Linked DNA regions of Homo sapiens: region 1 is linked to region 2. Evidence: promoter capture Hi-C in human tissues and cell types (Jung and others, 2019). All regions are on one chromosome and are shown on one strand. The core of a region is centred on a gene start or on the middle of the fragment in contact, and the rest is flanking DNA. Distances in the headings are between cores, read along the strand shown.

Region 1 (5,448 bases), core at 1,412-3,911, 650 kb after region 2:
GTCATTCCAGCACTTTGGGAGGCCGAGGCGGGTGGATCACTTGAGGTCAGGAGTTCGAGACCAGCCTGACCAACATGGTGAAACTCCGTCTCTACTAAAAATACAAAAATTAGCCAGGTGTGGTGGCACGTGCCTGTAATCCCAGCTACTTGGGAGGCTGAGGCAGGAGAATCGCTTGAACCTGGGAGATGGAGGTTTCAGTGAGCTGAGATCACACCATTGCACTTCAGCCTGGGTGACAAGAGTGAAACTCTGTCTCAGAACACACACACACACACACACACACACACCCCAGAAAAAATAGCTCATTCACAATTTTTTCTATAGATTGCATGCTTAAATGATAAAACACATTACTAAAACTAATTTCACCTGTTTCTTTTTACTATTTTTTATTTTTTGAGACGGAGTTTCGCTCATTGTTGCCCAAGCTGGAGTGCAATGGTGTGATCTCAGCTCACCGCAACCTCCACCTCCTGGGTGCAAGTGATTCTCCGGCCTTAGCCTCCCAATCAGCTGGGATTACAGGCGTGCACCACCACGCCCAGCTAATTTTGTATTTTTAGTAGAGACCAGGCTGGTCTCAAACTCCCGACCTCAGGAGGTCCGCCCGCCTCAGCCTCCCAAAGTGCTGGGATTAGAGGCGTGAGCCACTGCGCCCAGCCTTCTTTTTACTGTTTTTTTCTTGTGGCTACCAGGAAATCTTTAATTGCCCACGTTGATGGCATTTGCATTTCTAAAATGCTGCAGCCTTTGCACCGACCACCAGAGAGTGCTGTGCCCATGTGGCAGGATCAAGCAATCCGGAATCTGAAGGAAAAGAAAGTAGTTCAAGCTGACGATCAGTTAGATCAGTTCTTACAATGGAGACACGTTTACCATCTGGCATCTTTCAGCATCTAAGGGAGACAGATCTGCCTGGAGATAGGGAGTCTGCCGCTGATCCTCACACCATTTTATCCTGCTAGGTGGGGGACAGAATGAGGCCTGCAGTCAACTCACAGATTCTGCAGCTTTTTTTTTTTTTTTTTTTTTTTTTTTGAGACAGGATCTGGCTCTGTAACCCAGGCTGGAGTGCAATGGTGCAATGTCGGCTTACTGCAACCTCCACCTCCTGGACCCAAGTGATCCTCCCACCCCAGCCTCCCAAGTAGCTGGGACCACAGGTGTGCAACACCATACCAGGCTAATTTTTGTAGTTTTTATAGAGACAGGGTTTCACTATGTTGCCCGGGCTGGTCTTGAACTCCTGAGCTCCAGTGATGCCTGCCTTGGCCTCCCAAATTACTGGGATTAAAGGCGTGAGCTACAGCATTTATTAGATACCTACTGTCAGGCCTCTGAGCCCAGGCCAGGCCATCGCATCCCCTGTGACTGGCACGTATACATCCAGATGGCCTGAAGTAACTGAAGATCCACAAAAGAAGTAAAAACAGCCTTAACTGATGACATTCCACCATTGTGATTTGTTCCTGCCCCACCCTAACTGATCAATGTACTTTGTAGTCTCCCCCACCCTTAAGAAGGTTCTTTGTAATTCTCCCCACCCTTGAGAATGTACTTTGTGAGATCCACCCCTGCCCACCAGAGAGCAACCCCCTTTGACTGTAATTTTCCATTACCTTCCCAAATCCTATAAAACGGCCCCACCCGTATCTCCCTTCGCTGACTCTCTTTTCGGACTCAGCCGGCCTGCACCCAGGTGAAATAAACAGCCATGCTTCTCACACAAAGCCTGTTTGGTGGTCTCTTCACACAGACGCGCATGAAATTTGGTGCCGTGACTCGGATCGGGGGACCTCCCTTGGGAGGTCAATCCCCTGTCCTCCTGCTCTTTGCTCCGTGAGAAAGATCCACCTACCACCTCAGGTCCTCAGTCCAACCAGCCCAGGAAACATCCCACCAATTTCAAATCCGGTAAGCGGCCTCTTTTTACTCTCTTCTCCAACCTCCCTCACTATCCCTCAACCTCTTTCTCCTTTCAATCTTGGCGCCACATTTCAATCTCTCCCTTCTCTTAATTTCAATTCCTTTCATTTTCTGGTAGAGACAAAAGAGACATGTTTTATCCGTGAACCCAAAACTCCGGCGCCGGTCACGGACTGGGAAGGCAGCCTTCCCTTGGTGTTTAATCATTGCAGGGACGCCTCTCTGATTATACACTCACGTTTCAAGGGTGTCAGACCACGCAGGGACGCCCGCCTTGGTCCTTCACCCTTAGTGGCAAGTCCCGCTTTCCTGGGGCAGGGGCAAGTACCCCTCAACCCCTTCTCCTTCACCCTCAGTGGCAAGTCCCGCTTTCCTAGGGGGCAAGAAACCCCCAATCGCTTATTTCCGCACCCCAACCTCTTATATCTCTGCACCCCAATCCCTTATTTCCACACCCTGACCTCTTTGTGCCCCAATCCCTTACTTCCGTGCCCCAACCCCTTCTCTGCTTTTCTGGAGGGCGAGAACCCCCCACCCCTTCTCCGTGTCTCTACTCTTTTTTCTGGGCTTGCCTCCTTCACTATGGGTAAGCTTCCACCTTCCATTCCTCCTCCTTCTCCTTTAGCCTGTGTTCTCAAAAACTTAAAACCTCTTCAACTCACACCTGACCTAAAACCTAAATGCCTTATTTTCTTCTGCAATGCCGCTTGACTCCAATACAAGCTCGACAGTAGTTCCAAATAGCCGGAAAACGGCACTTTCAATTTTTCCATCCTACAAGATCTAAATAATTCTTGTCGTAAAATGGGCAAATGGTCTGAGGTGCCTGAAGTCCATCAGTCCCTTCCTACTCTCTGTGCCCAGTGCAACTCGTCCCAAATCTTCCTTCTTTCCCTCCCACCTGTCCCCTCAGTCCCAACCCCAAGCGTCGCTGAGTCTTTCTCATCTTCCTTTTCTACAGACCCATCTGACCTCTCCCCTCCTCGCCAGCCCAAGCTAAGTCCCAATTCTTCCTCAGCCTCTGCTCCTGCATCCTGTCATTTTTTTATCGCCTCCCCTCCTCACACCTGGTCCGGCTTACAGTTTCGTTCCGTGACTAGCCCTCCCCCTCCTGCCCAGCAATTTACTCTTAAAAAGGTGGCTGGAGCCAAAGGCATAGTCGAGGTTAATGCTCCTTTTTCTTTATCCCAAATCAGAAGCGTTTAGGCTCTTTTTCATCAAATATAAAAACCCAGCCCAGTTCATGACTTGTTTGGCAGTAACCCTGAGACACTTTACAGCCCTAGACCCTAAAAAGTCAAAAGGCCGTCTTATTCTCAAAATATATTTTATTACCCAATCTGCTCCCGACATTAAATAAAACTCCAAAAATTAAATTCCGGCCCTCAAACCCCACAACAGGACTTAATGAACCTCGCCTTCAAGGTGTACAATAATAGAAAAAAGTTGCAATTCCTTGCCTCCACTGTGAGACAAACCCCAGCCACATCTCCAGCACACAAGAACTTCCAAATGCCTGAACCGCAGCGGCCAGGCGTTCCTCCAGAACCTCCTCCCCCAGGAGCTTGCTACACGTGCCGGAAATCTGGCCACTGGGCCAAGGAATGCCCGCTGCCCGGGATTCCTCCTAAGCCGCGTCCCATCTGTGTGGGACCCCACTGAAAATCGGACTGTTCAACTCACCTGGCAGCCACTCCCAGAGCCCCTGGAACTCTGGCCCAAGGCTCTCTGACTGACTCCTTCCCAGATCTTCTCGGCTTAGCGGCTGAAGACTGACGCTGCCCGATCGCCTCGGAAGCCCCGTAGACCATCACGGACGCCGAGCTTCGGGTAACTCTCACAGTGGAAGGTAAGTCCGTCCCCTTCTTAATCAATACGGAGGCTACCCACTCCACATTATCTTCTTTTCAAGGGCCTGTTTCCCTTGCCTCCATAACTGTTGTGGGTATTGACGGCCAGGCTTCAAAACCCCTGAAAACTCCCCCACTCTGGTGCCAACTTAGACAACACTCTTTTATGCACTCTTTTTTAGTTATCCCCACCTGCCCAGTTCCCTTATTAGGCCGAGATACTTTAACCAAATTATCTGCTTCCCTGACTATTCCTGGACTACAGCCGCATCTCATTGCCGCCCTTCTCCCCAGCCCAAAGCTTCCTTCACGTCTTCCTCTCGTATCCCCCCACCTTAAGCCACAAGTATGGGACATCTCTACTCCTTCCCTGGCAACTGATCACATGCCCATTACCATCCCATTAAAACCTAATCACCCTTACCCCGCTCAACGCCAATATCCCATCCCACAGCATGCTTTAAAAGGATTAAAGCCTGTTATCACTCGCCTGCTATAGCATGGGCTTCTAAAACCTATAAACTCTCCTTACAATTCCCCCATTTTACCTGTCCGAAAACCGGATAAGTCTTACAGATTAGTTCAGGATCTGCGTCTTATCAACCAAATTGTTTTGCCATCCACCCTGTGGTGCCCAACCCGTACCCTCTTTTGTCCTCAATCCGTTCCTCCACAACTCACTATTCTGTTCTCCATCTTAAAGATGCTTTTTTCACTGTTCCCCTGCACCCCTCGTCCCAGCCTCTCTTTGCTTTCACTTAGACTGACCCTGACACCCATTAGGCTCAGCAAATTACCAAGGCTGTACTGCTGCAAAGCTTCACAGACAGCCCCCATTACTTCAATCAAGCACAAATTTCTTCCTCATCTGTTACCTATCTCGGCATAATTCTCAAAAACACACGTGCTTTCCCTGCCAATCGTGTCCGACTGACCTCTCAAACCCCAGCACCTACAAAACAACAACTCCTTTCCTTCCTAGGCATGGTTAGCGTGGTCGGAATTCTTACACAAGAGCCAGGACCACACCCTGTAGCCTTTCTGTCCAAACAACTTGACCTTACTGTTTTAACCTAGCCCTCATGTCTGCGTGCAGCGGCTGCTGCTGCTTTAATACTTTTAGAGGCCCTCAAAATCACAAACTTTATCAGTCCTCCAGGCCCAAGTTGACTCTTTAGCTGCAGTTGTCCTCCAAAACCACCGAGGCCTTGACTGACTTACTGCTGAAAAAGGAGGACTCTGCATATTCTTAAATGAGGAGTGTTGTTTTTACCTAAATCAATCTGGCCTGGTGTATGACAACATAAAAAAACTCAAGGATAGAGCCCAAAAACTTGCCAACCAAGAAAGTAATTACGCTGAACCCCCTTGGGCACTCTCTAATTGGATGTCCTGGGCCCTCCCAATTCTTAGTCCTTTAATACCCATTTTTCTCCTCCTTTTCTTCAGACCTTCTATCTTCCGTTTAGCTTCTCAGTTCATTGAAAACCGTATCCAGGCCATCACCAATCATTCTATACGACAAATGTTTCTTCTAACATCCCCACAATATCACCCCTTACCACAAGACCTCCCTTCAGCTTAATCTCTCCCACTCTAGGTTCCCACGCCGCCCCTAATCCCGCTCGAAGCAGCCCTGAGAAACATCGCCCGTTCTCTCTCCATACCA
Region 2 (5,437 bases), core at 2,460-4,959:
CTGTAGTCCCAGCTACTCGGGAGGCCAAGGCAGGAGAATGGCGTGAACCCGGGAGGCGGAGCTTGCAGTGAGCCGAGATCGCGCCACTGCACTCCAGCCTGGGCGACAGAGTGAGACTCCATCTCAAAAAAAAAATGTTTATTAAATAAATGAAAAACCTGGGATGGGCATGGTGGCTCATGCCTGTAATCCCAGCACTTTGGGAGGCTGAGGTGGGGCAGATCACCTGAGGTCAAAAGTTTGAGACCAGCCTGGCCAACATGGTGAAACCCTGTGTCTACTAAAAATACAAAAAATTAGTAGGGCATAGTGGCATGCGCCTGTAATCCCAGCTATGCAGGAGGCTGGGGCAGGAGAATTGCTTGAACCCAGGAGGTGGAGGTTGCAGTGAGCTGAGATCACGCCATGGCACTCCAGCCTGGGTGCCAGAGTAAAGACTGTCTCTTAAAAAAAGAACTAGCGGCCGGGCGCGGTGGCTCACGCCTGTAATCCCAGCACTCTGGGAGGCCGAGGCGGGTGGATCATGAGGTCAGGAGATCGAGACCATCCTGGTTAACACGGTGAAACCCCGTCTCTACAAAAAAAAAAAAAAAAAAAAAAAAATTAGCCAGGCGTGGTGGCGGGCACCTGTAGTCCCAGCTACTCAGGAGGCTGAGGCAGGAGAATGGCGAGAACCCGGGAGGCGGAGCTTGCAGTGAGCCAAGATTGCACCACTGCACTCCACGCTGGGCGACAGAGGAGACTCCGTCTCCAAAAAAGTAAATAAATAAAAGAAAAGAAAACAACTAGCAACATTTTTTTTTTCTGAGACTGAATCTCACTCTGTTGCCCAGGCTGGAGTGCAGTGGTGCAATCTTGGCTCACTGCAACCTCCGTCTCCCTTGGCCTCCCAAAGTGCCGAGATTACAGGCATGAGCCACCGCGCCCGGCCAGCAGTCTTTTTTTTCTGTTTCTTTCTTTTTTTTTTTTTTTTTTTTTTGAGACGGAGTCTCGCTTTGTTGCCCAGGCTGGAGTGCAGTGGCGTGATCTCGGCTCACCGCAAGCTCCGCCTCCCGGGTTCACGCCATTCTTCTGCCTCAGCTTCTTGAGCAGCTGTATTTTTTGTATTTTTAGTAGAGACGGGGTTTCACCATGTTGGCCAGGCTGGTCTTGAACTCTTGTCCTCTGGTGATCTGCCCACCTTGGCCTCCCAAAGTGCTGGGATAACACGTGTGAGCCACTGTGCCTGGCCAGAAATAGCAATTTTTAAGCATTTACTGTATACCTGGCATTATTCTAAGCGCTTTATGTGCCATTAAATCATTAAGTCCTTAACACAATCTTATGAAATAGGACCTCTTCCTACTCCCATTTTATAGATTGGTTAACTGAGAGCCAGAGAGGTCACATAATTGCTCAGTATTAGTGTCTGGTAAGTTGACATTTGTCCCCAGGATATTTGCATGGCTGGAGTCCCTCCTATCACTCAGTTCTGTGCTTGGTTGTTCCCTCTTTGCAGAGTACTCCTCTGGTGGAACAGACCATCTCATCTAAATTTTTAAAGTCTAAAATGGCCAGGTGTGGTGGCTCATGCCTGTAATCCCAGCACTTTGGGAGGCCAAGGTGGGCGGATCACCTGAGGTCGGGAGTTCAAGACCAGCCTGACCAACATGGAGAAACTCCGTCTCTACTAAAAATACAAAATTAGCTGGGAGTGGTGGCACACGCCTGTAGTGCCAGCTACTCGGGAGGCTGAGGCGGGACAATCGGTTGAACCCAGGAGGTGGAGGTTGCAGTGAGCCAAGATTACGCCACTGCACTCCAGCCTGGGCAACGAGTGAGATTCAGTCTCAAAAAAAAAAAAAATTGCTAGTTCTTTTTTTAAGAGACAGTCGTTTGAACCCAGGAGGTTGCGGTGAGCCGAGATTGCGCCATTGCACTCCAGCCTGGGCAGCAAGAGCAAAACTCCGTCTCAAAAAAACGAAAACAAAAAATAAACAAAAATTAGCCAAGCATGGTGCCATGTGCCTGTGGTCTCAGCTACTCAGGAGGCTGAGGTGAGAGGATCGCTTATGCCAGAGAGGCTGGGGCTGCAGTGAGTTTTGATCACACCACTGGCCTCTAGCCTGGGCAACAGAGCGAGGCCCTGTCTCAAAAATAAATACATAAGCCAGGCCTGGTGGCTCATGCCTGTAATCCCAGTACTTTGGGAGGCCGAGGTGGGCGAATCACGAGGTCAGGAGTTCGAGACCAGCCTGGCCAACGTGGTGAAACCCTGCCTCTACTAAAAATACCAAAAATTGCTGGGCATGGTGGCGGGTGCCTGTAATCCCAGCCACTCAGGAGGCTGAGGCAGGAGAATCGTTTGAACCCGGGAGGCGGAGCTTGCAGCGAGCCGAGATGGTGCCACTTCACTCCAGCCTGGGAAGCAGGGCGAGACTGTGTCTCAAAAAATAGATAAATAAATAAATAAGATACAAATAAATAAATACAGAAATAAATTAAATTAAATTACACTTTGTTCAGCCAAGTGTTGGCCACGTGTTCTGCTTGACTGCTTAATACCTGGGAATATCCCCACAAACACATTTTGCAATGGACATATAATTTCCCCGACAACTCAGCAGACTCTCTGACATTTGTTCAGATTTCAGATCTGACCTGGTGGAACTGGGGACTAGTTATTCCTTCTCTGGAAGGTCTCCCTTGCTCTTCTACCTCCACTATCTTTCTTTTTTTGAGAGGGAATCTCGCTCCGTCACCCAGGCTGGCGTGCTGTGGTGCGATCTCAGCTTACTGGAACCTCCCCTTCACGAGTTCAAGTGATTCTCTTGCTTCAGCCTCCCAAGTAGCTGAGATTACAGGCACGTGCCAGCACGCCCAGCTAATTTTTTGGTATTTTTTGGTAGAGATGGGGTTTCGCTATATTGGCCAGGCTGGTCTCAAACTCCTGACCTCAAGTGATCCACCTGCCTCGGCCTCTCAAAGTGCTGGAATTACAGGTATGAACCACTGTGCCTGGCCCACCTCCACTGTCTCTCCCCATGAATGCAGGACTGCCTACTTTGTCTCCTGGGGTTTTGCTGTCAGAGTGAAACTTATCTGTAAAAGAATAAGACTTCTCAGAGGCCTCTCAAAGGCAGTTGTTGGATTGAGCATTTTCCAAGGAGACTACTTTGAACCTTCATTTTGAATATCGGGGTTCCGATCAGCTCCTTATGTCTTGTTATTTTTGCGTTTTGTGTATCTGATGGTCATTGTTCTTCATGGCCTCCCTCCTAGGGAGAAATCAGGCCACTCCCTATTTCTGATAGCCCTAGAGTTTTGTTGATTGACTCTCGGATGTGTTTATTTTCCAGACCCAGGTTCCTGTCATGGCTAGGGGTGGCTGTTGGCCTCGTCCTTACCCTCCACTGGGAATGTCTTTGTCTTATGCACGTAGTCTGCCTTGTTGTTGCAAATAACATTTCTGCTATAATCACAGGATGCCCCGGCTTCTTCACTCCATTCGACGTAACCCCTTCCCACGAGCTCCACCTTCACTATGGGGTCCACCAGGGTGCTGTTCAGGGTTAAGATCACCTGCCCTTTTATGCTGGAGCCAGCCAGGTAGATTCTATCCTCGGGCAGCACTAATTCGATCGACTTCACCACAGACATGGGGGGTTGGGGGGTAGAGAGACATTCCTCTCTGTCCCCCATGTCCCTGAAATTCCCGGTTCGTTGGCCCTAGTGAGGTAATCCATCTATGACATCACTCAGCTCAGAGTTCCGGGAAGTGGGGACCCCAGTGGCCAGGAGGGGAGGCAAAACTGTTGTTTAGGGTGGGTGGTTGATTGGGAAACCTGTAGTCCTCACTGGTTCTTTTTTTTTTTTTTTGAGATGGAGTCTTACCCTGTAGCCCAGGCTGGAGTGCAGGGGTGCCATCTTGGCTCACTGCAACCTCCGCCTCATGGGTTCAAGCAATTCTCCTGCCTCAGCCTCCTGAGTAGCTGGGACCACGGGTGCATGCCAGCATGCCCAGCTAATTTTTTGGTAGAGACAGAGTTTCACTGTGTTGGCCAGGATGGTCTCGATCTCCTGACCTCGTGATCCACCCACCTCAGCCTCCCAAAGTGCTGGGATTGCAGGCGTGAGCCACTGCACCTGGGCTTTTTCTTTTTTTGAGACAAAGTCTCATTCTGTCACCCAGGCTGGAGTGTAGTGGCGCGATCTCGGCTCACTGCCACATCTGCCTCCCGGGTTCAAGCAATTCTCCTGCTTCAGCCTCCTGAGTAGCTGGAATTACAGGCATGCACCATCACCATGCTTTGCTAATTTTTTTTTGGTATTTTTATTTATTTTATTTTTATTTTTTGTGATGGTCTCACTCTGTCAGCCAGACTGGAGTGCAATGGTGTGATCTCGGCTCACTGCAACCTCTGCCTCCTGGGTTCCAGCGATTCTCCCACCTCAGCCCCCCAAGTACCTGAGATTACAGGCAAGTGCCACTGCAACTAGCTAATTTTTGTATTTTTAGTAGAGACGGGGTTTCACCATGTTGGCCAGGCTGGTCTCGAACTTGTGGCCTCACATGATTCGCCTGCCTTGGCCTCCCAAAGTGCTGGGATTACAGTTGTGAGCCACTGTGCCCAGGTGCATACACACTCATTTTCATCTTAAAGACTCTACATTTATATTGGTCTATATTGGAAAAAACATAGAGATATGGCCAGGACCTGAAATCTGGTGCGCACTGAAGTTGATCAGGGCAGTGTGTGCTTAATCTGAACATCGACACCATCAGGAAGCAGCAACTCCCTGCATGATTGACATTTCTCTTTTTTTTTGAGGTGGAATCTCACTCTGTTGCCCAGGCTGGAGTGCAGTGGCGTGATCTCGGCTCACTGCAACCTCTGCCCCCTGGGTTCAAGCGATTCTCCTGCCTCAGCCTCCCAAGTAGCTGGGATTACGGGCATGGGGGTTACAGGCACCTGCCCCCGTGCCCGGCTAATTTTTGTTCTTTTTGTTTTTGTTTTTGTTTTTTTTTTGAGATTGGAGTCTCACTTTGTCACCCAGGCTGGAGTGCAGTGGTGCGATCTCGGCTCACTGCAAGCTCCGCCTCCCGTGTTCATGCCATTCTCCTGCCTCAGCTTCCCGAGTAGCTGGGACTACAGGCGTCCGCCACAAATGCCTGGCTAATTTTTTGTATTTTTAGTAGAGACGGGGTTTCATCATGTTAGCCAGGATGGTCTCAATCTCCTGACCTCGTGATCCGCCCACCTTGGCCTCCCAAAGTGCTGGGATTACAGGCGTGAGCCACCGCACCCAGCCAATTTTTGTTATTTTTAGTAGAGACAGGGTTTCACCATCTTGGCCAGGCTGATCTTGAACTCCTGACCTCATGATCCACCCGCCTCACTTGGCCTCCCAAAGTGCTGGGATTACAGGCATGAGCTACCACGCCTGGCTGACATTT

What was found. The method cuts DNA at HindIII sites, captures the fragments that hold promoters and counts their contacts. A contact is called where the count stands out against the background at its distance.
Region 1: a fragment that was not itself captured here is called in contact with the fragment with the promoter of ARRDC5 in region 2 in 1 of the 25 tissues and cell types used here (dorsolateral prefrontal cortex).

Annotation. Positions count from the first base shown.
Region 1 is chr19:5,547,246-5,552,693 of GRCh38, forward strand. No RefSeq gene overlaps it. Among named protein-coding and RNA genes, the nearest start is that of TINCR, 18 kb to the right of the region's middle. The HindIII fragment of the contact is 3,354 bases long and covers 985-4,338 here.
Region 2 is chr19:4,899,187-4,904,623 of GRCh38, forward strand. ARRDC5 (arrestin domain containing 5) reads right to left here and starts at 3,710. Exons shown (of 3, transcript NM_001080523.3): 1 at 3,387-3,710. The coding sequence starts at 3,639. It also overlaps a transcript of UHRF1 not described here. The HindIII fragment of the contact is 23,961 bases long and covers 1-5,437 here.